7 separate regions of the Homo sapiens genome follow, and regions 2, 3, 4, 5, 6 and 7 are each linked to region 1. Evidence: promoter capture Hi-C in human tissues and cell types (Jung and others, 2019). All regions are on one chromosome and are shown on one strand. Each heading gives the region's core, a stretch centred on a gene start or on the middle of the fragment in contact. The rest is flanking DNA. Distances are from core to core; before and after follow the strand shown.

Evidence for each region. Contacts are between HindIII fragments. The study calls those that stand out against the background at their distance.
Region 2: a fragment that was not itself captured here is called in contact with the fragment with the promoter of ACKR3 in region 1 in 1 of the 25 tissues and cell types used here (lymphoblastoid cells).
Region 3: a fragment that was not itself captured here is called in contact with the fragment with the promoter of ACKR3 in region 1 in 6 of the 25 tissues and cell types used here (H1 embryonic stem cells, aorta, dorsolateral prefrontal cortex and 3 more).
Region 4: a fragment that was not itself captured here is called in contact with the fragment with the promoter of ACKR3 in region 1 in 7 of the 25 tissues and cell types used here (dorsolateral prefrontal cortex, heart right ventricle, mesenchymal stem cells and 4 more).
Region 5: a contact is called between a fragment that was not itself captured here and the fragment with the promoter of ACKR3 in region 1, in 4 of the 25 tissues and cell types used here (aorta, bladder, liver and 1 more).
Region 6: a fragment that was not itself captured here is called in contact with the fragment with the promoter of ACKR3 in region 1 in 2 of the 25 tissues and cell types used here (dorsolateral prefrontal cortex and mesendoderm cells).
Region 7: a fragment that was not itself captured here is called in contact with the fragment with the promoter of ACKR3 in region 1 in 1 of the 25 tissues and cell types used here (mesendoderm cells).

The regions. Positions count from the first base shown.
Region 1 is chr2:236,567,375-236,571,224 of GRCh38, reverse strand. It overlaps ACKR3 (atypical chemokine receptor 3), which reads right to left and starts at 1,400. Exons shown (of 2, transcript NM_020311.3): 1 at 1,301-1,400. RefSeq lists enhancers at 2,164-3,039, 3,040-3,850 and a silencer at 3,341-3,390. The HindIII fragment of the contact is 7,550 bases long and covers 1-3,850 here.
Region 2 is chr2:237,047,702-237,051,551 of GRCh38, reverse strand. The region is part of intron 1 of COPS8-DT (COPS8 divergent transcript); the gene reads left to right. It overlaps LOC105373950 (a long non-coding RNA gene), which reads right to left. Exons shown (of 3, transcript XR_007088140.1): 1 at 1-3,850. It overlaps LOC93463 (a long non-coding RNA gene), which reads left to right. Exons shown (of 7, transcript NR_135202.1): 5 at 242-609; 6 at 1,372-2,140; 7 at 2,586-2,953. Among named protein-coding and RNA genes, the nearest start is that of COPS8-DT, 36 kb to the left of the region's middle. The HindIII fragment of the contact is 8,637 bases long and covers 1-3,850 here.
Region 3 is chr2:237,031,021-237,034,870 of GRCh38, reverse strand. All of the region lies in intron 1 of COPS8-DT (COPS8 divergent transcript), which reads left to right. Among named protein-coding and RNA genes, the nearest start is that of COPS8-DT, 53 kb to the left of the region's middle. The HindIII fragment of the contact is 3,540 bases long and covers 475-3,850 here.
Region 4 is chr2:237,013,962-237,017,811 of GRCh38, reverse strand. The region is part of intron 1 of COPS8-DT (COPS8 divergent transcript); the gene reads left to right. It also overlaps the pseudogene RNU6-1051P. Among named protein-coding and RNA genes, the nearest start is that of COPS8-DT, 70 kb to the left of the region's middle. The HindIII fragment of the contact is 6,899 bases long and covers 1-3,850 here.
Region 5 is chr2:236,991,713-236,995,562 of GRCh38, reverse strand. All of the region lies in intron 1 of COPS8-DT (COPS8 divergent transcript), which reads left to right. Among named protein-coding and RNA genes, the nearest start is that of COPS8-DT, 92 kb to the left of the region's middle. The HindIII fragment of the contact is 7,647 bases long and covers 1-3,850 here.
Region 6 is chr2:236,963,026-236,966,875 of GRCh38, reverse strand. All of the region lies in intron 1 of COPS8-DT (COPS8 divergent transcript), which reads left to right. Among named protein-coding and RNA genes, the nearest start is that of COPS8-DT, 120 kb to the left of the region's middle. RefSeq lists an enhancer at 783-1,284. The HindIII fragment of the contact is 8,467 bases long and covers 1-3,850 here.
Region 7 is chr2:236,935,636-236,939,485 of GRCh38, reverse strand. All of the region lies in intron 2 of COPS8-DT (COPS8 divergent transcript), which reads left to right. Among named protein-coding and RNA genes, the nearest start is that of COPS8-DT, 150 kb to the left of the region's middle. The HindIII fragment of the contact is 5,409 bases long and covers 1-3,850 here.

The DNA.
Region 1 (3,850 bases), core at 151-2,650:
TGCAACTTTGCTTTAGAAAAGACTTTCCATCTGGGGAAAGCTCATATTCTGATGAAAGAAGGGCAAGCAGTTTATCCATTTAAAATCTATGGAAAGTTAAAGCACAGAAACCAGCAGCCTCCACTTTCTTTGCTAGGCGTGCCTAGCTGATGTCCACATTTTTCCTGGAATAAATAAAGGGACACTAAAAGCAGCATCTGCCTTTAAAAAAGAAAAGAACAAAGTTACCATGTTGAGACTTTGCAGACTGAAGTTTCAGGGGATGTCACTGCACCAAATACATTCAAAGGGCTGTAAACCATTTAAGGAGGCTCTCTCCCACTTTTGAAACACTAAGTAATCCTGTTGTGAGCAAAAGGAAAGAAAGAAAGAAAGAAAGAGGAAGAGAGAAAGAGAGACAGCCAGTCTGACTTTTACAACTTCTCATTCTCCCTGGAAGTTACAAGTCTTGGCTAACCACCCATCCCTGACCTCACTCCAAAGTTCTCTCAGTCACTCCTTGAATCTTTGCACATGCCAACAAAATTGAACAAAATCCACATTTTACCTGAAGAGTATATTTAAATTGCAAAATAGTAGATTTGTGTGTGTGCTTCCCCCAACCCCAATTGAAGTTGGACTTAACACCTTCTAAGAGAACAATACTCAAATTAGATTAGCAAGCGTGCCATCAAGAGAAGAGAAGACCGGGCTGTGTTTAACATTCACGTTTATAGCTTCCGGACTTACAGACTCTGGTAAATCCCCCAAAGTACTGAATTCAAATACATCTTGGACTCACAAAGATTCTCAGCAGTTTTCTGCTCCATTTAAGGATGCCTCTTAATAAAGTGTTCATCATTCTGGAATTACGTATTTACTGCCAATTTTATCTGTTTCCAAACTGATATACTAGAAGCAAAACAGGTAAACAGTGGGTGCCAAGCTAATCCCCATGCCAAATTGGTCAGGCAGAATGGATAGTCTGTGTTCTTGCAAAGTTCCCCTGCTTACTGGAGCTTAAATAGCCACACAGCAAATAAACACCAGATTCCTAAATACACATGGAAATTTCCTTCTGCAAGTGACTTAAGAAAACTGCCCTTTGCTTTCTGAAGAGAAAGGTGAAGCCCTCCGAATTAGCAAAAGCACTTTGCAATGCAGCTGCGTGCAGCCTGGGTTTTCAGAAACCAGACCCGCAGACTCAAAAGCACCCATCTGAGCGATTTTAAAGAAGGCCTTTGAAAAGACCACTTGGCTTAAGAGCAGAAGCCGTGCCTTCTTTCCGAGCAGAGCTGCTGCCCGAGCACCGTTTCCTTACCTCCGGGCTGGCTGGGCTGGCTGGGCTGGCTGGGCTCGCTCGCCTTCCTGGCTGTGCTGTGCGCTGGCTCCCTTAGTGCTGAGCACTTTGCAACAACTGTGAGCTCTGCTGGCTGCAGACTTGCATTATATACACTGCAGAAAGGAGCCTCTAGCCTCTAGATGGCAGCTTTGTAACCCACATCTCTCTCTCCCCCGTGCCACCCCCATCCCACAGGCAGACACACACACACACACACCCCCCTCTTGTAAACCTCACTAGTCTGTTGTTTCCTGCACAAGTGTACTCTTGGGAAACCCCAGCCTTCTTTCATTTGCAAAATCTGGTGAAGCCACAAAGTCCAAACCCCACGGGGGGAAAACGTCAGCCAAAGACAAACTGCAAAGAAACCCTAGTGCTTGGCAAAATCATCAAATATTTATCTGGTCTCAGGTATATCTTGAATAATCCCATTAACACCAAGAGCTCCTGTGAATGCCTCTTCGCTCTAGGGAGGACTTTGTTCCCAAGACAAATTACTCTGAACTTCTGAACTTCGATGTTGATTTACTAAGCCTGGGTTTTCCTTGTTAATTCCTCCAAAACAGAAGTAACAGTTTTGGTATGACCAATGAATCGATGCCACACCGTATATCCCCAAAGTGGAGAAAAGAGTCTTTATAATAGATTATACTTGAATACTTTTATTTGTAAAGGACTTTAAGTACAAAATCCTTGAGACTCTAATCAAGATAGTATTCTACAGTGTCTGCCCAGTGCCAGACACGCATTAGGAAGATAATAAATGCCTTTTGATAATGTCTTTTTCTGAGATGAGTCTGGCAAACACTTTACTACAATTATTGCAATCTACATTCTTATTTGGATGCGTATTGCTAAAGTTCCCCCCACGGAGGAATTCAACCTAAAAATGTGATCCAGGTGATACTCATCTCCAATGCCCCATTTACAAAAATCGTCCATAAGATAGGGACCCAAAGGCCACCCGCCAGCCCATCCCATGTGCAATGCTCTGGCTTTCGTATTGCTTTCTGATCTCCTGGAGTTCTTAAAGAGCGGCTCAAGTGGAGTGTATGAAGGCACCAGCTGTATTCACGCCTTCTCCAGAGCTAAAACTTTTCGAGATTCTTTTTATACTTCTACTAAAAATAACAGCAGACGCTCGGTCCCAGCGCTGAATCTGGGGGACTGGGAGGTCAAAGTCTCACGTGGCTAGAAAGTCTCCGTGTGGAGAAAGCCCTTAACGAAAGAAATATTTTGTTTAGCTAAAAGCTTCACATTTTTCTCCTGAACTGGCTGCCCAGCGGGAGGCGAGGTGCACACCTGCTCTCCGGGGGCCTCCGGAGGGGTCGCCCTGGGGCCGGCCTTTCCCAGCCCGAGCGCAGCGTCCCGCCACCGCCTCTGCAGGGCGGCGCAATCACTCTTCGTGTCACATCGGCACCAAGGACATCTCCAGGCTCCCCAGAGACGCTGGAAAGGAAAACTGCCAGCGGCTGCGTCTACCCACACCCAAGATCTAGGCGAGACCTCGACTCTCCACAGCATACGTGTCCTGACTTTTTCTGTCCTGTTTCTTTCTTGTGGGGGACCCTGTGTCTGAGCCCGCTGGAAATGTACGGGGATCCCCTCTGGACTGCAGCTCGGTTTCCGCTTTCTGTGGCTGTAGCCGTGACTCCGGGGCCTGTCCTTCAGAGAACGCGCTCCGCATTGCAGAGCCTGCGCGCCCGGTGGAAACACAGAGTGGGTGTCAATCCGTTCTGAGCTAAGTGTACTGTCGCTGGAAGAAAGGCCACATGGGCCGGGGACCCCGGACAGGATGCTAACGTAGAGGAAGGAAAAGGCAACGCAGTTTTTTTAAAAAGTAGAACCCGCTTCGTGCGTCCGGGGCCAGAATCCACGAGGCCGCCTTGCAGCAGCCTGCGCCCTGCCCCGCCAGCCCCGGCCCCGCGCCCACCCACGGCCTGCACCCAGCCCCGCACCCACACACGGCCTCGCGCCCTCCCACAGCCCCGCGCCCTGCCCCGCACCCACCCACGGCCCGCACCCACGCCCTTCCCCGCGCCCAGACTTGTTCCGCACTCACGCACGGCCGGGCACCCGGCCCAGGCGCCTGCGAGAATTCTGGCCCCGGGGTCACCGCCCTCGCCCTTCGACGTCCCCCACCCGTCCCCTAGTTCCGCCGGGCGGGGCTGCTGGAGGCTTCCAGACGGGGAGGGGCGGACCAAGCGCCAGCGGGGAATGGGGCGGGGTGGGTCGGGAACTCTGGCCAGGCTCCCACCCTGGGAGGAGGAGCTGGGTGCTTGGGGCCTGAACTTGGCTGTCTCCTTGGGCCTCCCACCCTGTCCCAGAAAACAGGCCTGGGGGAAAACGAGAGGGTAAGCAAGCAGGGCTTTTTGAGAAAACGAGATTCCATTGCCCTAGGACCTAAAAGTCTCTTTTCAAAGTTTTGAAGAGTGTCTCTGCTTTTGGAAGATTGTGCTTTCAGTGTAAGGGCAGAACTCCACCTCCATCCTCTAGGGGTCCCGGCTGGGTCCGAGAATTAAATTGACA
Region 2 (3,850 bases), core at 879-3,378, 480 kb before region 1:
AGCCTGTAGTTTTAAAATTGTATGGAAATTTGTGAGTTAATGGAAGGGGAAAATATTACAAGAAATGCATATGTTACCTTCAGAGCCCGCCTGCTGAAGGCTTCCTCTCCCTGTTCCGCATGGCAGGAGCCTGTGGACTCCATTGGTGAATTTTCAAAACATCTGTTTACCTCTGAGTCCAAACCAGACTGGCAAAAGCTCCTACAAAAAAGTTATGCAATTCCTTACTTTTTCTCCCTAGATTGTCCTCTTCCTGTCACATGTGACACTGGGACTACTCACTCTCATCAAGAGAAACATGACACTTCTCACAGGGGTGTAGACTAGCCCCCCACGATAATCATGCAATAGCCCTAACATCAATTCATGCACTGGGATGTTCGTGAATTAATATTAAATAATATTACAGAATGGACAGCAAGGGAATTCAATTCCTTCTTATATCACCCTGAGAGTGGAGCCTACAAATCCTCCTGAGTCTTTGAGGTTCTCTATTCCTGTTATCCTTGAACAAGAAAATGTGCACATGTACACACACACACACACACACACACACACACCACTAATTTCCCTGAAAACACAAGAATGAGCAATAATAGATATGCACAGGTCAGTCTAAATGAGTATTTATCAAAACAGATTTTTCTATTTTGCAGATGAGAATTTAGAACTCTGCCTACATTTAAAAAAAAATCTCCAATAACCACCCACAACAATTTAACTCCTTAGAATTATATTATTGGATATTTCCTTCTTAGAAGAGGGTTTTCTTTTTCCCGAGGAAGACACCTCTGTGAACTGTTTAATTATGCAAATATGAGCAAGGATGGTGAGCAGGGCGGTGAGCCTGAAAGGCAAATTCAATATCTATTCTCCACAGTAGAAGCTGCTAATAACCTAAATAACAGATATTTTAAATTAAGAAATAATTGGGAGACATAAAAATATATAGTGAGTATTCTTTTAGTCAACCATTAGCTCTAAGTAATGCTAATATACTAACATTTTTACATGTTTGTTTGATGTTTTTATTTTAAATAAGACATTATAGATAAAGTTCAAACCCCATTTTATTATTCCCTAGTCCTCTCCTCCAATTTTCTCTTTCCTGATGCATCATCTCCCTTACATTGGCTTAGGTGTTTCTCATACATATGTTTATGTTTCTCTGTATAAAACTGGTATACAGGATACCTTTGCATGTTTTGAAATTATGTAAACAGTTTCAGACAGAATACACTTTTCTTCAAATTGGATTATTTTTACTCAATATTTAATGTCAAGGTCTGTGTTACTGCATATAATCCTAATTATTAATCTAGTTCACTTATGAAAGCTGCAATATTCTATCAAATGCACTTGCTTTTCCAGACAAAATGAAGTGATGGGGATTTTATTTACCTTCTACCCTGAAACAATCAAAACACAGACAAAATATGTGATATAATGTTTTCAAGTCACTGGACATCAAACAATGAAGGGCAGTGAACCCTCTGAGATAGCAAATGAACAATAATGAGGCCTCCAATTGCTCAGTCTGTCTTCCTTGATAGTGTTTCCAGGCTCCTGTTCAGAGAAGGGGGAACCCAGGCAGAGCTCAGTGGAGTCCCTGAGTTGGAGAGACACAACTGAGAGTATAGAGAAATCCCAGAGGCAGGAGCTCACAGGACAGAATTCCAGCAAGGAGAGTACTGCACAGGAAGAATGACCAGGAGGCATACAGAGGGTGCAGAGGGTCACCACTGAGGGTTCCAGTGAGTACTTATGATCACATGAAAACCTCCCAAGTTTGGGGAAGGAACTACTCAAAAAGACTGGAAGTAACTGGAGCTGACCAAGGCCTGAGAACAGTGCCTGTTTCTATTAGCCAGACTGAAGAACTTCATGATTCACAGGACATTTGGTTTGAATACACAGAGAGCCTTCCCTTAATCAGTGGGGAATAAGTAGAAATAGACTCAGCATTGTTATGGTCCTACCTAGAAAATCTTAAAAGCCAGACTCAAAAGGATCAATCTATTTCCAGTAACTTAATTGCATCCCAGAATAAAGCTCAATAATATTGAAAGGACTACAGCAACTTTCAGCACCCAACACCAGGCATTCAGGGAAGCAGAAGAATATAACCCTCAATGGAGAGGTCAGTCCATCAAAATTGACCCAGAACTGGCACCAATGTTAAAATTAGCAGACAAGGACATTAAAATATCAGTATAATAACTGTATTCTATATGTTCAAAAAGTTAAATAGAAGCATGGGAGATATAAAAATGACACAAGACAAACTCCTAGAGATGAAAAAAATACAATGTATGAGACAAAAAATAAATTATAGGATTAGCAACATATTAGACACTGCAGAAGAAAACTTGGTAAATTTTAAGATCTAGTAATAGAAACTATCTAAAATGAAACAAAGAGGGAAAAGTACAGAAAAAAACCTCCAGAACATCAATAAGCTGTGAATCATGTCAGGTGTTTAATATATATGTAATTGGAATCACCAAAGGGAAGGGGCCAGGAAAAATATTTATATAGATAATGGCCAAAATTTTCCAAGTTTGATGAACATTATAAACCTATAGATCCAATAAGCACAGAGAACCTTAAGTATAGGAAGATGTGAAGAAAATTACACGAAAGCACATACTAACCAAATTGGCTAAAACCAATGACTAAGAGAACATCTTAAAAGCAGTCATACAAAAAAGACAAAAGGAAAAGACAGACAAAATAAAGAGGAGGGAAGATAAGGGTGACAGCAGATTTCTCAGAAGAAACAATGCAAGTGAGAAGCCATTGGAGCTGCATTTTAAAAGTACTGAAAGAAAAAAATTGCCAATCTTGAATTCTGTTCCCAGTGAAAATATTTTTCAAAAACAAAGATGAATAAAGACTTTTTTCAGATTGGAAAAGCAATTCCATCAAGTGAATATATTATAATTTTTCTATTGATGGGCATTTAGGTGGTTTTTATTGTTGTTTGTTGGACAGCACTAGAATGAGCATCATACACACATTACCTTTTGTTCACATGAGAGTTTTTCTAGAATACGCATCCAAAGGGAGAATTGTTGGGTAAAAAGACATGCACATCTTCCGTTTTTGCCAAGGTACATACCAAGTGCCTGGAGAGTATGAGCACTGGTATTGTCAGATTAAAATGTTTACTTTTCTAATGGGCCTGTTTCTGGATGTTCTATTCTGTTGCACTGGTCTGTTTGTCTATCATGGGGCTAATATTAGGCTGTTTAAATTGTATAGTTTCACAATAGCAATTGCACAAGACCCTCTGCATCAGTTTGCTAGGGCTGCCATTATAAACCCTATTGTAGTAGGGCTGCCATAAATAACAGAAATTTTTAAACAGCAGACATCTATTTTCTCACACTTTTGGAGGCTAGAAGTTCAAGATCAAGGTGTTGGCTGGGTTGGCTTTTTTCTGAGGGCCATGAGGGTAGGATCTGTTCCAGGCCTCTCTTCTTAGCTTGTAGATGGCCTTCTCCCTGTGTCTTTACATCATCTCCTCTCTGTATGTGTCCGTTTGTGAATTCCTCTTCTTATAATATTCATTAATATTGGATTAGCCCCACCCCATCATGACCACAATTTTAACTTAACTTCTGCAAAGACCCTATCTCCAAATGCAGTTACATTCTGAGGTACTAGGGGTTAGAACTTCAACATAGGAAATTCGAGGGAATGCAATTCAGCCCATAACACCCTCTCTCTTAGTTTTTCATCAAAAGTGAATTTTAGAATCAGTTTCTCAAGTTTCACAAAGAAAAGCCCACCAGGACTGTAAGTGAGAATTGCATTGGATTGATTAGGGGAGAAATGACATATTTGT
Region 3 (3,850 bases), core at 995-3,494, 460 kb before region 1:
AAATTAGATAGACTGATGAAAATGGCCTGTATTGAGAAAAGGGGAGGGGCTGGGTCCATACTTCTACCTATCTGTTTGGTTCTCCACTGTCACACCCTGGTGGAGAAGCCACTGCCTCACTCTAGTTGAGTTTTCCCACCAGGGTTATATAAGGCTGAAACCAAGCTCGACAGAGTTGCAGCAATGCACAAATGGTGAAATGGTGAGGTCTGTATCTGTAACACACACACATGCACATAGACACACGCACACGTCTTGATATTTATGGGTCTTGAATATCAAAGGTTGCGATGAATTTAGCAATGCTCTTAAATGAGTTGATATAAAATGTCAGTGCCGATTCCTTCTTTCAGATGTGTTCGATCTTGTCATACTTGTATAGAGATAGCCAAAATTAGGCACTAAAATCACTTCCATGTGTTTTCCCTCTTCCTGCCTGTGTTTGGAATTCCCACATACGTCATCTCTGTGCCTTCTAGAACTAAGACCCCCATGAAGAGTACTTGACTGTCCACCCATTTGAGGGCAGCTTTATTCAGAGGCCAACATAGAGAGTTAGAGGACAGATAAAGCAGTCCCTCAGAGTGATTACAATGCCTGCAGAAGTCGTTTTTCCCACAACCCTTGTGCTTTAATTAAAAGTGAGCAGCAAAGTTGCCAGTGCAGCATTAGGAACATAGTATGAAGTGAATGCAGAGAGTGAACTTATTGTAGTGTTGCTGGATTTTTAGAACAGGGGAAGCTAAACATGAAGTGAGTTTCATATCAGGGAAGAAACTTGACCAAAGAAAATTCCTAGTTAATTGCTTGCTATTTGCACTGTCTCTTAATGTCTTGCAACTGAGCTTTTGTTTCATATGTCTTTGTAAACTTCTGATGATAAATATCTCCATTAGAATATATTGTATTCTCCTAAAGACTCCAAATTATGGAGAAGCTGTTCTAAATTTTATAGAGCACACAGATCCCTTTGAGGTTAGCTATTTGAGAGCCTTCTGCATGATAATAGGTGCAGTTTGATTGAAAAATACCTACTGTCAAAAGCATATGTGAGGTCATAACTTGTTGATCTCAAAGTCCTGTGAGGACACATTTACATGACAGTCAAGCCTTGGTGCACAAGACTGTTAGTTAGTATGCAGGAGGCACTTGGCGCCTACAATGACTGCGAGACTCCTTGAAGAAGGATGGGGCTTGGAGTGTCCCCCAGGGCTCTGCTGCCCACAAATCAGGAACCATTGCTCCAGGAAACAGAAATTCTAGAATGTCTGGTTTCAGAGTTAATTTTCCATTAAGAGAGAGAATTTAATCTTCTGATGTTACCATACCCGTTTATTCATCATGATAACAATATGACCAAAGAAGTAAATATTGCTGCAAATCTCTTCTACTAGAGTGATGTGATACAGTTAAAATATGTTACCATTAAAAATGGCAATTACACAGTAAGCAGGCCAGATAGGAAGCTTGGGAAAGCTGATGCATTTTAAGCTTATAGCAGTTTACTAAGAACAAAAAGTTCACATAATTATTCTAAAAGTGGACATAATTTTGTTTCTTGCTTTGAACTTCCATAGGAGCCGTAGCTAGGATGTTGACTCAGGGTTCTATGAAGTGTTTTGGAGAAAAGTTAACAAAGTAGGAACAGGGTGCCTGTATCTGATGATCTGAATCAATTTTGGTACAGAGCTTAAAAAAGAGGGGAAATAGGCAACCAAAACCTCCACTGGGCTTTGTCAGGAGCGTCATCAGCCATGTATGGTTGGCATCCACAGAGAGAAACTCAATACAGGCACCCCAGGGGCCAACTGAGAGGGGCTCCTCCTGCTTTAGATGTGCAGCTGGGGAGGACGCTTTGTGTTCATTCATTCCATTCATTCAGCAGTCATTTGGGGTTACAGCAGTGAACACATCCAAGTTCCTGCCCTCGTGCCACCTAAGTTCTAGTGATGTGTGGGGGGGATGCGGATATACAGCAAGCAAATAAACAAGTTAGTGTAGATTCCACATCATGCTGTGTGTAGACTTCACATGGCATCATGTGTAGACCCCACATGGTGGTGTGTGTAGACCCCACATGGTGTTGTGTGTATACCCCATATAGTGTTGTGTGTGGACTCCACATGGTATTGTGTGTAGACTATATATGGTGTTCTGTGTAGACCCCACACAGTGTTGTGTGTATACCCCATATAGTGTTGTGTGTAGACTCCACATGGTGTTGTGTGTAGACTCCACATGGTGTTGTGTGTAGACTCCACCTGGTGTTGTGTGTAGACCCCACATGGTGTTGTGTGTATACCCCATATAGTGTTGTGTGTAGACTCCACCTGGTGTTGTGTGTATAACTGACACAGTGTTGTGTGTGGACCCCTCAAGGTGTTGTATGTAGTGTGTGCACTCCACATGGCATTGGTGCATGGAGAAAGGAAGCAGAGCAAGGAGAAGGTGACTTGGCACAGGCTGGTCCTAGGCACCTCCTGAGAAGGTGGCATTTGAGGAGAGACCTGTGTTGAGTAAAGGAGTAAGCCATGCAGCTCTGCAAGGGAGGGGAGTTTCAGGAAGGGGCTGCGCCATGTGCAAAGGCCCTGAGCTGGGAGCTCGGGGGCCCACAGGATGGAGCAGAGTGAGGGGAGTGGAGGGAGGTGAGTTAGAACGTGGGGTCAGAGGGGTCTCTGGGCCATGGTAACAAGCTTTCTGAGTGACATGGGGAGCCAGGAGAAGCTTTTAAATAGGAAACGATCTGACCTTTGTTTCAATAACACCACTTGGGCTGGAGGGGTGCACATGCTGTGTCCATGGCACTCACACAGCGAGACTTTCACTCTGTCTGGGAGGGAATTCAGACCATCCCTTTACAGAGTCATAGACATACCTCCAGCAACTCCTGCATCTCCTTTTCCCAGCCCAGAATCCATCCACGGGACTGCTGCCCTGGGGCCAGGACATGGAACAAGAGCCACCTCCCCTGCTGGCGGTGTGTGTGTGAGGGGGCCCTGCCAGCGAATTAAACCCAGGCTCAGCCTCTGGCTTTTGACTCCCTCCCTCCTTCCTCTTTCCCCATACCATGAGAAAATACAGCATAGGGGTTAAGAGAATGAGCCCAGGAGCCACGCTGCTCGAGTTTAAATTCCAACTCCACGAACGCTAGCCTGGCAAGTTACTTCATCTCTCACTGCTACAGTCTCCTCATCTGTGCGAGGGGTTTGATGCTATTCGCACTTCCCTCACAGGATTGTTAGGAGTTCAATGTGTCATCATATGCCCAGCATGGAGAAGACTACCTGGCTCACAAGAGTGCCACATGAGTGAATGCCACATGAGTGAGTGACATGGGAGTGAGTGCCACAGGAATGAGTGCCACATGAGTGAGTGCCACCTGGGTCTCAGTTCCTGCCTTTGTTGTTAATGTCAGCATCTCTGCCACAGGGATGGCTTTGCTTGGGTCTCCCTGCAATACTGCAGCCATCTCTGTGGGCCTAGGGTGAGGAGCCGGCCTTCTCTGTGGCCTAGGGTGAGGAGCCAGCCTTCTCTGTGGGCCCAGGGTGAGGGCTGGCCTTCTCTGTGGCCTAGGGTGAGGGCTGGCCTTCTCTGTGGGCCTAGGGTGAGGAGCTGGCCTTCTCTGTGGCCTAGGGTGAGGAGCCAGCCTTCTCTGTGGGCCTAGGATGAGGAGCTGGCCTTCTCTGTGGGCCCAGGGTGAGGAGCTGGCCTTCTCTGTGTGCCCAGGGTGTGGGCTGGCCTTCTCTGTGGCCTAGGGTGAGGGCTGGCCTTCTCTGTGGGCCCAGGGTGTGGGCTGGCCTTCTCTGTGGGCCCAGGGTGTGGGCTGGCCTTCTCTGTGGCCTAGGGTGAG
Region 4 (3,850 bases), core at 762-3,261, 450 kb before region 1:
TAGTGATGCCATTTAGAACTGGGTTTTCATCCACTAAACAAGTAACATTGACAGCAATTCCAACAGTGGAAACATCCATGGCAAAATGTCACTGGGACCCTTATTTGGTTTTCTGGGAAAGGAAGAAGAGGAAAAATAAAAAGAACTTGAATTAGTCACCTGCTTTTCATCAGACATTGAACAGGCACTTTCAGACATGGTATCTCCTTCCCTGCCTTGCAGTAATCAATTATGGAGAAATCAATTAGTGATGTCTGCCACAGGCTAGGGCTAAAGGAAGGCAGCACACGCCAGCTTGTGAGAATTCCTTTCCCTAGTGCAAGGTTTGGTTCAAATACCATCTTACAACCATATCCCAAGATTTAGAATTAAAGCAATATATGAGCTAAAGGGTAATGAGATCATCCCTATCATTGTTTCTATAATGTAGGCAGTTAATTTACTATACTACCTTATATTATAATTTTTTCTTATTCTTACCACCAGATTCTAAGCTCCTTGAAGGCAGGCACTTCTTCTAAATCATCCTTACGTAGCCATGATTCCCCCTCCCTCTCTCTCACTTCCAACTCTAATGCATGCATTCAGGCTTTCTTCTGGTGACACATTCAAAAAATGTTTGCTGAGCCCCTATTAGGGACTAGAAGTGACAACAAGAGGACAAGGCTCAGCTCCGTGGACCTTGCGGCTCGGCACAAGGCAGGTGCCCCGAAGCTCTGCTGCTAAATCTGCCTGCTGGACTCATGGCATCCTACTCCTAAGGCCTGGCCAGTGGTGACTTGGGCTGTGGCCGAAGCTGAGTGAGCATTAGGGACCAGCACTGGGTGTAGAGCAGCCTTCCGTGGCAGGGCCTTAGTGAGAGGAACTCAGAAGAGATGCTAGCAGAAGGTGGGAGGTGATTGAAATGCCAGAGACTCAGGGGGTCCCAGGGACTAGTTTGCTAGCAGAGGTGGTTGCATTTTCTCAAATTTCTACAAGTTTCTGGAGTAAGCTTGGAAAGCCAGGCAGCTTCTGATGAGTAAGCAGAGGCTGCCACCGCACAATGTGGGGACTCTAACTCCCGCCGGTCAGCGCAGAGGGAATGCCCGTCTGTCCTGCGGTGCAATGATCAAAGGCTTCCTTCATGGAATTCTCCCCCTGCATTCCTGCTTTCTTGTGAGAATTAGTTAGACATTTCACCTTAACTTCACTTATCGGAAAAATTGAAAGGATAAGACTAAATTATTTTGTATCTATTGAGCTAATGTTTGCATTTCTAACTTCCTAAATCGTCTTACCTAGGCTGCTTGAAAGAAGTGTGTCCTAGACTTAGAATAATGTTTAATTTTTAGAAGATGCCATTCTCTTTCCATGGAAGGTCAGTAATTCCAAAGAAGTCAATATAACATTATCCAGTCCTTCTGTTAACATTTTGATTGCTTTCTTTGTCAGAGTCTTCTTGTCTCAATGGTGAAAGGTATAAACGTTTCAACAGCTGTGGAAGAAATGTTTATTACCCTTCAGTTAGGCAAAGAGATCCGTCTTCCCCAAAACAATGCTTGGGGTTAAAGACTTGCCTCCCCTTTGCAATTTAGTTTGCACCTTTATTTCTGAGAATGACTTCAATTCAGGCAGTTGATAAATCAAGGATCTGACTACAAGAAAACCCCCTCCTTCTTGTCCTCTGTGGCCAAAAAGGATGGTGTTCTGGTTTGTGGTGGTTGTTTTGGGAATGAGTGTTGTTTGATTTTCCTGTAGAGGTTTCTCAAAGAAGCTGACTTGATTTTTCCAGGTGCCCCAGTCTGTTACATCACTCCAAGGCATCAAGAACAGCTCAAAACCTCTATACTGCTGGAGATGGCAAGTTAGGGTAGAAATCCCCCTGGTAGAAAATCAAATAGCTTCAGGTTCCTTGAGGTTCTCACCTTTTGCCTCAATCTTCTTTACCTGTTAGTTCCTTCCAGTATGGGAAAACCCCTGGAGACACTGCAATGCCAGTGGCACCAGGAGACCCCATGTGAGGGCCATTCTCATTAGGAGCAGTCAGACCCCCTTGGCAGTGCCACTTTCATCCCGTATCCCATGCTTGGAATCCTTCCAGTCTCCCCAGTGTCAGTGGGACAAAGTGGAAACACTAGAGTCCTCCCTGGGAAGGCACAGGTGACTCCAGCCAAGTGCTCTCTCTCCCACCTTCCAGCCTCTCTGGTAGACATGTCCTGTTCCTGGCGACCTCGGGCATCTGGGCTTTCCATGTTCTGTGCTGGCAATGGCCTCCAGTGGCCTCCGGGGCCCTGCCCTGTGAACATCTCTGACTATGACCCACACTGCAGAGCCCAGCCTCTGTCACACACTGAATGGCCCAACCACCTGTGCACACACTTTTTCTGCACCTCCCTAAGTTAATTATTATGTACTCCATAAAGGGATCTTGGAGATCATGTAGTCTGACACCCCATTTAGTAGGCAAGAATATCGAGACTTAACAGGCAAAAGAGTTAATTCACATAGAACCCAAGGGTCCTGGTGTATACTTGAGCAGTACATACACTAAAATTGGAACAATGCAGAGAAGATGAGCACGGCCCCTGCACAGGATAACATACAAATTCATGAAGCATTCCATCTTTTTATGTTTATTCCAATAATGTTCATGATAGCAAAGTCAGGAAATCAACCTAAGTGTCCATTAATAGATGAGTGGATAAAGAATATGCGGGGCCGGGCGCAGTGGCTCATGCCTGTAATCCCAGCACTTTGGGAGGCTGAGGCAGGTGGATCACCTGAGGTCAGGAGTTTGAGATCAGCCCGGCCAACATGGCGAAACTCCTTCTAAAAATAGAAAGAAAATTAGCCGGGTGTGGTGGTGCACACCTGTAGTCCCAGCTACTTGGGAAGCCGAGGCATGAGAATGGCGTGAACCCGGAAGTGGAGGTTGCAGTGAGCTGAGATTGCACCACTGTACTCCAGCCTGGGTGACAGAGCGAGACTGTCTCAAAAAAAAAAAAAAAAAGGAAAAAGAAAAAGAATATGTGGTGTATATATTCAGCCATAAAAGAGAATGGAATCATGTGTTTTGCAGCAACATGGATGGAACTGGAGGCCATTCTCCTAAGTGAAATAACTCAGAAACAGAAAGTCAAATATCATATGTTCTCACTTAGAAGTGGGAGCTAAACAGTGGGCCCGCATGGACATACAGGGGAATCCTTGGAGACTTCAGAAGGTGGGGAGGATGGGAAGTCGGTAAGGGCTGAAAAATTACCTGTTGGGACCAGTGTTCATTATTTGGGCAGTGGGTACACTAAAAGCCTAGACGTTACCACTATGCAACGTAGACATGTAACAGAACTACCTTCCTACCCCCGAGATCCATAAGAATAAAAAAAATACAGTGGGGAAAAAAGGAGCCCCAGGGTCATTTCTACTACACTGCATTGTCTTTTATTTTGTTGTCTTATCAGCCTTTTTTTTTTTTTTTTTTTGAGATGAAGTCTCACTCTGTTGCCCAGGCTGGAGTGCAGTGGTGTGATCTTGGCTCACTGCAACCTCCGCCTCCCAGGCTCAAGCGATTCTCCTGCCTCAGCCTCCTGAGTACCTGGGATTATAGGCGCATGCCACTACCCTGCCACTAATTTTTATATTTTTAGTGGAGACAGAGTTTCACTGTGTTGACCAGGCTGGTCTTGAACTCCTGACTTCAAATGATCCACCCACCTCATCCTCCCAAAGTGCTGGGATTACCTGCATGAGACACCACACCCGGCCCTCTTATCAGCTTTTGTTGCCCATCTGTGAATCTGTCTGATTTCTCCAACCAGATTCTCAGCCCTTTGAGAATAACTATGTCTTGTTTCCTTTGTGCTACTACTTA
Region 5 (3,850 bases), core at 355-2,854, 420 kb before region 1:
TCCTACGTGAGAAAGGTAAAAGACCAATAACAGGCTACATGTTAACATCTCATCCTACATAAGAAAGCTAAAGGATGCAGTTTATACAAATGTTGATTTATATATATATATGTATATATATGCAAATCAAACTTAAGCATTACCGTTGTTAGTGAAGTAAACAGAAAATGCACAAATCATCAAGAAAAAAGAGAACAAGTACTGCCTGGCAATATGGCAAAAGGTAGGGAAGGAAATACATTGGAAGCATGAGGGAAACATAAATAAACATCATAAATTAAGATGACAGAATTAAGACCAAGCAAATCAGTTAATATGGCAAAGTAAATGTTTAAACTCTTCTGTTAAAAGACAACTCTTAGACTGAATAAAAGCAAGTATAAACTTTTATGTTCCTCTGAATGATCCTTTTAAAATGTAAGCATCCCTATAAAGGCAGGTTCTTGGAAAAAGAATTTCCTGGAAGTGCATGTCTTCTGACACCTAAAGGACAGAGAGAAAATGAGCAAAAGCCCATGAATTCACCCATCTGCTTTCACTCAGCCAGCATCTCCTGAATGACCCTGGACACTGCTTGGGTTGTGGAGAATACGAAGGTGAGCAAGACACTACGTCTGCTCTCGGGAGGTGCCATTCTGGAGAGGAGCACAGACGTGGGAAGAGGTGGTGACCCCATGAAGGACACATGCCGTGAGGGGAAGAATGGCAAGCACAGGGCCAGCCTCCCCCACCTCAAGCCAAGAAATCAGTTTGAAGCAGGATAGGGTCATTATATAATTGGTCATTTGTGTCTGTAGCTCTCATAGAAAAACTCAGATTAAATAACTAATCATGCCCACACACTCAAAATGTACCCCATTTTGTGTACATTTCAGTTGTTAATATTTTTTTTCAGCCGGGGTCACTTCCCTGTGTAGACGCACAGAGCCTGATTCTCCTGCACAGCTCTCCCGAGTGGGTGATGCTTGGGAACTGGTTGAACAGAAAAAGGCGCTGAGCTGCACAAGGGAACTTTTCCTACAGCAGCAGAGGAGTCAGAAGATGAAAATAAGGATACAGGAAATCACTGCACAGAGCAGGGAATTGAAGCATTACCCTGTCGGGGGCGGAGGTGGTCGTTGGAAGCGTGCAATTACTTTCAACTATTTTTATAACTGGTTAGCCGTCATGCCAGATCTGAGGCTTTCTTTAGTCAATAGCAGGGTTTTTACTAATTCTGTACATTTTCAGAGGCCTCAGAGACAATGTGAGACGATTGCAGCTTCTAACGTGTCTCACATCTGTGCAAGTGACTTAGCTTATTCCAGTTGGGGACTGGCTTAGGTTGGGCTCCCCCAGAAGCAGACCCCCAAACCAAGATGTGAGTGCAAGTCATGTATTTTAGAGGTGATCCTAGAGAGCCATGGCAAGTGAGTCGGGAAAGGGGTGGGGGAGGGTGGGAAACCAAGGCAGGGAGTTCTTGTAAGCAGGTCCCCACCACCCCCCCGCCCCGAGGGCATTCGGGCTCATCCGCTACATTCTGCTGGGGGAAGAGGAAGCTGGGTATTCACCCACTCGCTGCCTTCCATCATAGTTGAGAGCAGCCCTGGGATATTAACTCCCCAGCTTGGTCAGCCATGCCTGGCCCTGCAGCCATTGAACTCTTTCATGCAGCAGGCACAGGGGTTTGAAGGTCACAAGCCATGGGCATGTGTATGAATGGAGAGTACCTAGGTGATGCTGGTGGGGTGCTGGCAGCATCCATTAAACAGCTGTGCCTCCACTCTTCTCGCTATCCTCTGCTACTGCTTATCATTTCACATCTTTGTTAAATTAATGCTTGTATATATTTTTTAATTTTTAAAGATACTTTTATGTTGCTCAGGCTGGTCTCAAACTCCTGACTTCAAGTGATCCTCCTGTCTCAGCCTCCCAAAATGCTGGAATTACAGGCATGAGCCACTGCACCTGGCCAGTGCCTTGTGTCTTATTTCTGCTAAACTGCTGTGGCTTCACGCTATTACACTTTCCCTCCCTCCTTCCTTCCCCCTACTTTCTCTTTCCTGCCTGCAAACATTTAATGAATGACCACTCATTTCAGGCCCTGGTGATGAAAGATGACTGGACCTTTATGTGCACAGATTCTTCATGACACTGTATTGGCAAGGCTAGGAGACAGGCATGCATGAAATACTGTGGAACATGGAGCTAGTGTCTTCTAGCTTGAAAGTAACTGCCAGGGAACTGGATGAAGTGACTCCTGAAAAGGCAGTGCAAAAATGTGCGTCAAGCTCAGAGCATGCAAGGTGCTGGTTGAAGGTGACGTTTGATTATGACAGCAGGTGACAGGTGGGCTGATGTGTTATGAGGAGTCTCTGCTGCTGCAAGTTCCCATCACTTTCCCAGCAAAGAAGTGAGGAGATGAATGACCTCCGCTGTTGAGGATGGAGGAGGCTACAGTACATGCTCTATTGATGCATTTTCCAGGTGGAATTTGGGTCATAGCGTAAACAGTTTGTGAAAGCTTGAAGGAAGACATATGACAGACGACATGCTCTTCAAACAAAGTAAGGCCACTGTCACCTCTCCTTAAATCCCGTCCTTCCCAGAGAATGTTCCCTGAGTGTCTAATGTGTACATAACATATCATTCAGCCAGATGTTCAAGCCAACCTTTTGTGGACCTCTCTGTCATCCCTTGAACTCAAACTTCACTGTATATGATGAACCCTGGGGAGCCTATTATAATGATATTCCTAGGCCCTGTTCCAAACCTACTGAATCAGAATCTCCGCTGGTGGTCCCAGTACTCTCGAGTTTAGGCACTTCTTATGCAGCCAACTGTGCTTTCTCTGGGTTAGAGGAATGATACACACTCATTCATCCATCTATTTATGTATCTGCCCATCCATCCACCCATCCATTTATCCACCCATCCACCCATCCATCCATTTATCCATCCATCTATCCATCCATCCATCCATTCAACCATTTATCTATCCATTATCCATCCCCATCTGTCCATAAATTCATCCATTCGTCTATCCATTTATTCATTTAAAAATATTCATTGAGGACCTGCTATGTGCAATGCACAGTGCTAGGCAGTGGAGCTACCGAACAAAACAGACAATAACTCCTGCCGTCAGAAATGTCACTTTCTTGGGAGGGAGGCAGAGAAGAAAGTGCCAGATAGGTCAGGTGTGTGGTATGTCAACAGTAGTAAGTGTTATGGGAAACCTAAAGCAGGGGAGAGGGATGTGGAATGTAAAGGGGCAGCTGAAATTTTAACAACAGTGGTTGGAAAAAGTTCCTCTGAGAAGGTGACATTGCATTGAAGACTTAAGGCAAGACAGCCCACCATCAACATGCTCACTGGGGAGAGAATTCCCCACAGAGGGACCAGCTACATCTGGCAAGGCTCTAGAAATAGAGAGAAAGCCAGCACACCTGAGCTGGGTGAGTCAGAGGTGAGGGTTGGGTGTGAGGTCAGAGAGGTAGGGAGAAGCTGAGGCCACTGGGGGACTTTGGGTTTTTCCCTGGTTGAGATGAGAAGCTCTTGGAGGAACTGGAGCCATGGAGTCCCATGATCTGATTCATGCTTTAACAGGATCTCTCGGGCTGCTGTGTTTAGAATAAACAGAAAGGTAGGGAGGTAGATTTAGGTAGCCTGGTTGGGAGGCAACCACAATGAAGTTCTAAGACCAGCAGAGAGTGTTCAATTTTTTTTTTGCTTTAACAAAAGGATTTTCATTCCGAAATGGATGTGACAAATAAGCAATAAAACATACGAAAAATACAAAATATACTCCAGGTAGAAGATGCTGGGTCTATTAGTCCATTCTCATGCTGCTATGAAGAAATACCCAAGA
Region 6 (3,850 bases), core at 456-2,955, 400 kb before region 1:
TCACTCCTCTTACACGTGGGAGGAGCATCTTGGAACAAACTCCAGGCAGAGAGGGCGTGCATCTCAGAAATAGTGTTTTGATTTTCTCCAGTAAAGAGGCAAAACATTTTTTTGAAATTATCAGATGGAATTGATTATTAAAATAGAATGAACATTGAATTATTTTTCCCCAAAACCAGTGAATGGTGACTTGAAGGGTAGGTTAGTAATAATTCACCCTACTTACAGGTCATAATATGAGTTGAATTTCTTTATGTCACTGCTTTTGCTTTAATTGGTGGCCATCTCTCTAGGGGCCTGACCAACCATTAACCAATATTCCTGATGTCCTGTGATAGCAAATGTTGATGGGAATTTGAAGGATGGTCAATCATCATCTGCTGTCTAGTTTTTTGTTTTTTGTTTTTTTTAACAGTTTGTTAACTGTTTTTTTAACAGTCTCAGACAGAGCATTTTATCCTAAAAAAATGGGGAGCAGGTACCACATGTGACCAGCCTCAGCTCTGGAGGAACCCCAGAGAAAGAGACGGATGCCTATCTGTTCCTGACCCCCAAGGTCCCTCAGGATCTGCTGGGAGGGGTTAGTTGTGAGATGTAGCCCCAAGACTGCACAACTTAACCTGTGAAAGCATTTATTTAGAATTGAGCATTTGCATTTTGGGAGATGACTGCAAACACAGCTGTTTTCTTTTTTATGCAATTAAGATTGAGGCATCCTTAGTGACAATGGGTACCAGACTGGATGCCTATTGAAGCCACCCCTCCAATTGTAAAAAGGTATCCTCAGTGAGGAGGTGGTACTCACCTTCCTCTTGACTGCAAGCATTGACCTAAAAGTTCTGTCGGATCACAAAGGCCCAAGTTATGGGGAAACAGTAAGATACAATGGCCTCTGAACTGTGAAAGACTTTTCTTTCTAGCCTCTTTTTAGAGATGCATTTAAAGACAGCTTTGTGGGATCCAGCATTCATTCATTCATTCATTCATTCATTCATTCAAATGCAATGTTTATTGAGTTGCTACTGTATGCAGATCCTCACTGGGATCTGTGCTGAGCTTGAACAATGGGCTGCTTTCACATTCCAAGATCTCCCTTCACAATCCCCACAGGAAATACGAATATTCCACATTTGGGGTCTTTTCTTTTCTCTGGGAGTGCTGGGATCATGCTGTCAGTGTGTCTCCCATCTAGGTGGCTGCGTCTCAAACTTCTGTGATCCTTTTTTAAGATGTGAGAACAGGTGTTGTTTGTACAGCATTCGTGCCCGCTGGCAATGAGTCCTCATCAGCAGGTTACCTTGGGAAGGGGAGGATGCCAGGTCAAAAACACGGCCTCAGGTGCAGCCATCCCTGCAAGACAGTTCTCTCCAACCAGCATGGCTAACCGATGAGCCAGAGACACAGGGGTTGAAGGGGTCCAGCCTCTCCTACACTCCTAACAACGCTCTCTTTTTCCTAAGAACTTGAAGATGGAGCAAGAGATGCACAGGTGGCAGGGAAGGGACTGGGATGAACCGTACACCCACTGCCTGTGCAGTTTTTCTTAAATTAAACCTTTTACTTTGAGATAATGGAAGATTCCCATGCAATTGTAAGAAGTACTGTAGAGAGAGCCGAGGTACTCTTCGCCCAGTTTCCCCGCGTGGTATCATCTTGCATACCTATCCTACAGTGTCACAGCCAGGTAATTCCCCCATGCAGTTTTGTCTAGCAGACGTGATGAGCTTTCCTGAAGGCCTTTGTCCTGCCATACTTCTGGTTCCTATGGGCCTAACCCCTTCCTGTTCCTGGGTTTTCCTGCCAAGCTCAGATCTTTAATTCTTTTCTATTTCCCTACTTTTCCACTATGGATTCATTTTGGAAATTATAATGCTTAGTGACCACAAAAAAAGTTAAGCCAATGAGCCAGACAACCCTCGGTTGCCTTATACTTTTAATAAAAGACATAGTTCTGAAATTTTACTGGTCTTTTGCAGGTCATACTATCTTGCATTTGATAGGAACAATTTTATGGATAATTTCAGAGCTTATAGTCCAATAAAGATAGGGCAAAACATTTTAAGTTGCTTTTCAAATCCGTGATAAAGTGACAGTCAAGAAGAGCTGTACTGATGGTGTTGTATTGAACTTCTTGGGGTGGCCCTAGAGGAAGTCAAATAACATTACCCTGAGCCATCTGCTCAGTTTGATTCTCAGAGGATCTTCTTCAGTCTTGCTCAGACTGTGCTAAGAACAAACAGGGTGACTTTATTTTCTATCATACATATGCTGTCCAGAAGGATGGATGCCTTGTCCTGCCCCGTGATACCAACAGGCAGAGAGAGCCGTGCTGCTTGCCACATGTTTTGGAATCTCTTCCCCCAGCTGCAAGTGTTTCATAACATCTATTGACCTCTTCTGAGAATAAACACCCACTAGAGTTGGCTACGTCTCCTCTGAAAGAGGTATCCACCCCACGGTGTAATCCCACTTCGACAATAGGCTGTGCACAAACTCTGCAGTGTGCTTGAGGCATTTGTTGCCTGAGCCACATTAAGCCCAATGGGTTTTAATAGATCAATGTACACTGATGTGTCCCAAATAGAGGTGTGCCAGCCTCACACCCTGAAGGGGAGGAAGGTGCTGGACATCAAAAGAACCTACACGTGGCTGTCAAAGTGCACAATTCCTTCTATTTGTTCCAGAGATAGCTGAACAGATTTTTCCTACCATACCTTGCATTTCAAACCAGCTCTTGACATGGCTGAAAGATAAAGTGCATGAAAGAAAAGACAATGAATCTGAACTCTCACTCTGCTGTCATGAATGATGTCACACTAGCCTAAGAGCACGCTCAGGGCCCCTGGAAGTGGGAGAGCTCAGGAAGGCGAGCGCAGAGGGGAGCAGCCTGGGTCCATCCCACATGTCCCAGAGGCACAGGAGGACACCAACTGTGCAGGGATCAGAGGCCAGGGAGCCCATCAGGGTGAGGTGATGTGCTGGGGTGGGCCTCGCCTTAGCTGAGAATGCAGATGGGAATTAAGATGCATTGTGGCAATACAAAGAAAACATAAATGTGGCCCTGGACCCAGGGAAGATGACACTCACAGCCCCCTATGCAGGTCGAATACAGGTGGCATTGGGCCTCCAGACCTGGCCCCAAGGAAGGCAGAGAGAAAAGTCATCACCCAGCGTCCCTGGGGGTGCTGAAACAAGGAGACTTCACCCTGGCCCTCGTGGGGCAAAGGCCCTTGAGATGGAGATGTGCTTGTGGGCACTGAGCCGGGCTAACATCAGAGGCCTGTGTGTGCTGGGGTTTCCCTTCCCAAGGGGCACTCTCAGGTTTGAACCGAAAATCTCAGGAATCCTACGATAAAATGGTGCTGCTCTCAGACTACCCAGACAGTTTAGTCAGGATCTTCTAGCACATTTGTCTTGAGGGTTCGTGTAAGGTTTGATGACTCTCTTGCTTACAGGACAAGTTAGGATCCTGTAAATAAATAAATATATATATATATATGCCTATGCAGCTTTGCAGCCAATAACGGGGAAGTTCTCTTCTGACCTCAGGAATTGTTATGGGCTGAACTGTGTCCCCTCCAAAATTCACATGTTGAAGTCCTAACCCCTCAATACTTTGGAATGTGGCTGTGTTTGGGGATAGGGTCTTTACAGGAATAACTAAGCTAAAACGAGGCTGTTAGGATGGGCCCTAATCCAATGTGACTGGTGTGCTTATAAGAGGAGATGAGGACACGAACACACAAAGGAAAGGCCATATGAAGCCACAGGAAGAAGGTGGCATCTACAAGCCAAGAAGAGAGGCCTCAGGAGAAACCAGCCCTGCTAATGCCTTGCTCTCAGACTTCCA
Region 7 (3,850 bases), core at 690-3,189, 370 kb before region 1:
AGTAGCCAGAGAGTGCATGAGCAAGGCACCCAATGCAACAAGCCTTCAGTGAGGCCAGGGGATGCCAGGATGCAATGCAGACTGTGACCCAAGAATCTAACTTGCAAATGTATGGCACGGCCTTGCTGAAGGGTGCAGGGTGCTGACCCTAGTGACTTTGCAAAGGAGTGGAGTCTGTAAGACCACAGTCAAAGAGAGCTGCTCACAAGCACTCTGCTTTAGATGGTAGCGATGTTTCTTATGGGGTTAGGGGTTAGCAACTCTGCACCACCATACATGGATATAGAATGGGACACTTAAGTAAATGGGTGCAGAATGTCAGGAGCCAGGTTTCTTCCCGTTGCAGTGGGAGATTAGAGATAAGCAAGGGGAGGAAGCTGGAATGATTTGTGTGATACGGAATTAGAGCTGGAAACATCAAACTCATGTTTAGCCTCATATAGATACAGATGGATCAATGGAGAAATAAGTATAGGTATGCATATATGTACACATACATTTCTAAGCGCTTTTGGCTGCAAGGGCCTAGAAGCAATGACATCCCAGTGGTATCAAGCATGCCTAGCACCCACATCTTGGTTTCTAATATCACTTTCCAGTAAAAGGAATCAGGGCTCCCTGGGAGAATTGACCGATTCTAGGGCTGGGGCAAGAAATAAACCTGTTGAGCCTGGAGTATCCTGTAGTCAGAAAGTAAGGAAAGGCTCAAAAAAGACAACTTGTGAATACTGAATAATAGTGTGTCCTTGTTGGTTAGTTGGTTGTGACAAATGCATGATTCCAATGTAAGATATTAACAGTAGAGGAAAATGGGTTCAGGGTAGATGGGAACCCTTGGTACTATCTTTGCAATGTTTCTGTAAATCTAAAACTATTCTAAAATAAAACGCTTGATTTTTAAGAAGTCTCAAATGACACTCCTTGCCCTTCTCTAAAACCGCATCCACTCTCTCACCCTTGATCACTTTGCTCCCACCACAGTGGTCACCTTTCCTTTGCACCTGCCTTTATCATCCCATGTCTCCTGTGCTTCCAGGACTTTCTGTGTGCTGCTCCCTCTGGCCAAAATGTGCTTCCTTCTGTGCCTGGCTCCTCCCACATCAGGGCTTAGCTGAAATTTCTCTCTCTCTCTGGGGATGGGTTCCCAGCCAGCCTTGCCAAAGTGGTTTCCTCCCACTGTCCAATGCCGCCACCACACCCACACCACACACATGCACACACACCCACACATGCACACTCTCTCCTGGTCCTCTTTCACACAACCTTGTTTATATTTTTCACTGCGTTTCCATTGTGTTTCATAATCCAGCTCATGTGTCTCCCCAGGAAGAGTTTCTGATCCGTGAAGAAGATGTGTTCCAACCATCACTGACTGCCCAACATCTAGTTCAGTGCCTGGCACACAGTAGGTGCTTAGTATATATTTGCTGGAATAAATAGATGAGGGTACTAGTTAATTAACTTTAAGCCAGGCACGATCGCTCATGTCTGTAATCCTAGCACTTTGGGAGGCCAAAGTGGGCAGATCACTTAAGGCCAGGAGTTTGGGACCAGCCTGACCAACATGGTGAAACCCCATCTCTACTAAAAATACAAAAATTAGCCGGGCATGATGGCGCATGGCCTATAATCCCAGCTACTCAGGAGGCTGAGGCAGGAGAATTGCTTGAACCCAGGAGGCAAATGTTGCAGTGAGCCAAGATCCCACCACTGTACTCCATCCTGGGTGACAGAGTGAGACTCTGTCTCAAAAAAAAAAAATTAATTAACTTTATGCTATGACAGTCAGTTCCACATGAAACTGTGTATCACAGGCTCTCTTCATAGGCAGGTGATAAAGGCAGGTGCAATGGAAAGGTGGCCACTGTGGTGGGACCAAAGTGATCAAGGGTGAGAGAGTGGATGCGGTTATAGAGAAAGGCAAGTGAGGACAATACCCACACCCCGCTGGCATCATGAAGCTTTGGGGCAGCATGTTTGGCACCTGTCTGACTCCAGGCAGGACATGATCTCTGCTATCAGGGATTAGCAAACCTGAAATTGTCATGTGATCAAAATGCACACTGACAGCACACAGAGAAACAGAACTTTTCACACTTCACTGAAATAAGTCCCATATTTTTTCCCAGAAGCTTAAAATCAAATAAAAACCTCCAGTACACTAAGCGTATGGCAACGTGATATAGCCCAACCGCCATGTCACTATTGTGTCATGGTCAAAATGAAAGAGATGTGGGATATGAAGGGTGTAAATTAAAGGCAACAAATGAAAACAATAGTTTGAAGGGCATCATATGATCAAATAATATAAAAACGGGCTTTTATTAAGCAATAGATTAGTAAATGGCAGTAAAATATGTCAATTTGAGTCTGCTCTGCTTCCACATGAAAATCCATTGAAAAAAAGAACGAAGCTCATGTAGCATTGGGATTCAAAGTGGATTCTCTATTGCTGCATTGCAGAGTCTATGATGTTGCTTGAAAAATAATGACATCAACAAGGACACCAAGCCCTCCACCTGGGTAGACAGCCCAGGACTTTACATGGGCAAAATTTCACCTTTAAGTTTATATTCTATGCAAATGTTGAAACATAGGGACTTTTCATATGTCCTGGCTTTAGGATTGGCTTGGATTCTGGTTAGGTTCGCCTTCAGGAGAGTGCAGGAAGGAGCCCTCCTGGAAAAGTGTCGTCTCCCACCGGACAATAAAGCTGCCTGGCTCCCGTCCTGGGAGAAGGACAAGCTCCGAGTTTTGGGAGGAAACCCTGGGGGTGGCCAGCAGCTCTGCCCCTCTCTGGTTGGTCCTTTGGAGGAGTAGATGCTTCAGTGGCTCAGAGGGAAGTGTCTGTTTCTTCCCCGTGCACCCTCGGGAGGAGGCCAAGTGGATCAGGCAGGGGCACATCTTGGCTCCAACCTTTCCAGAATCATTTCCACAAAACTCCTGGGGGAGGGGAACCAGGCTAGGGGCCTGCATGGGCTCTCCATACCCTAGCCCTGCCTCTTGTCATTCCCAGATGAGGAAGATGGGCAAAGTCTTCTGGAATGGATCAGTCTCCCATCCTGGGTGTTTGATTCTGCCCACCAGGTAACAGAGGCACCCGGAGGTGGTGCCGAAGTGGGCCAGGCACCCCAGGTCCTGCAGGGGCCCCTTATTCCTCACCAGACCCTGTGCTCCCTGCTGTCAGGGACAGACACTCCCTACTTCCTGTGGAATGAAATGGGAGTGCTCACAAGTTAGCTACCTTGGGGAGGTCCCAGCGTCACTGTGTCAGTGGTGCTTTGCTGCCTGTCAGGTGTATTGGAAAGTCAGATTACACTGCTTTCAAAAAATGCTTCAACAGAAACTGCACCTGGAATGTGAGTGGATATATGTCAGTCAGCAGCAGGTTGAACCATGTTTGCTGTGAGGATGTCCTTACTGCTGCCAGCGTTCGGTTCTCCCTTCCCCAGCACCACTGCACTCAGCGGACGACGTCTTGTCCAGTAGGGCATCCTCCTCAGGCCTTTGCAGGTGTCTGTGCCAATGGGGACTCCTGGGCACTGAAGACCCACTTGTGAGCCCTGCAGCCACCTGCCAAGTGCAGAAACTCTGGCCCTCTCAAACACTCACCCAAGGATGCCTGGGAGCCCAGTGTTGTCCAAGCCTGGTTGCTAAGAGTTCCTGCAGGTACTTCTGCTCTGGTGTGCAGCGCTGAGATCCACTGCCAGGAAGACCTAAAGCCCAGAACCTTGTGGCTGCTGTGGGGAAGACGCTGCCACCTCCAGTGCTGCTGGCTGCAGGAGCTCCTCAAAGAGCCCTGCTGTCCTCAAGTCCCCAAAGCTGCACTGTGTTCTCAGAGGAAATGGGG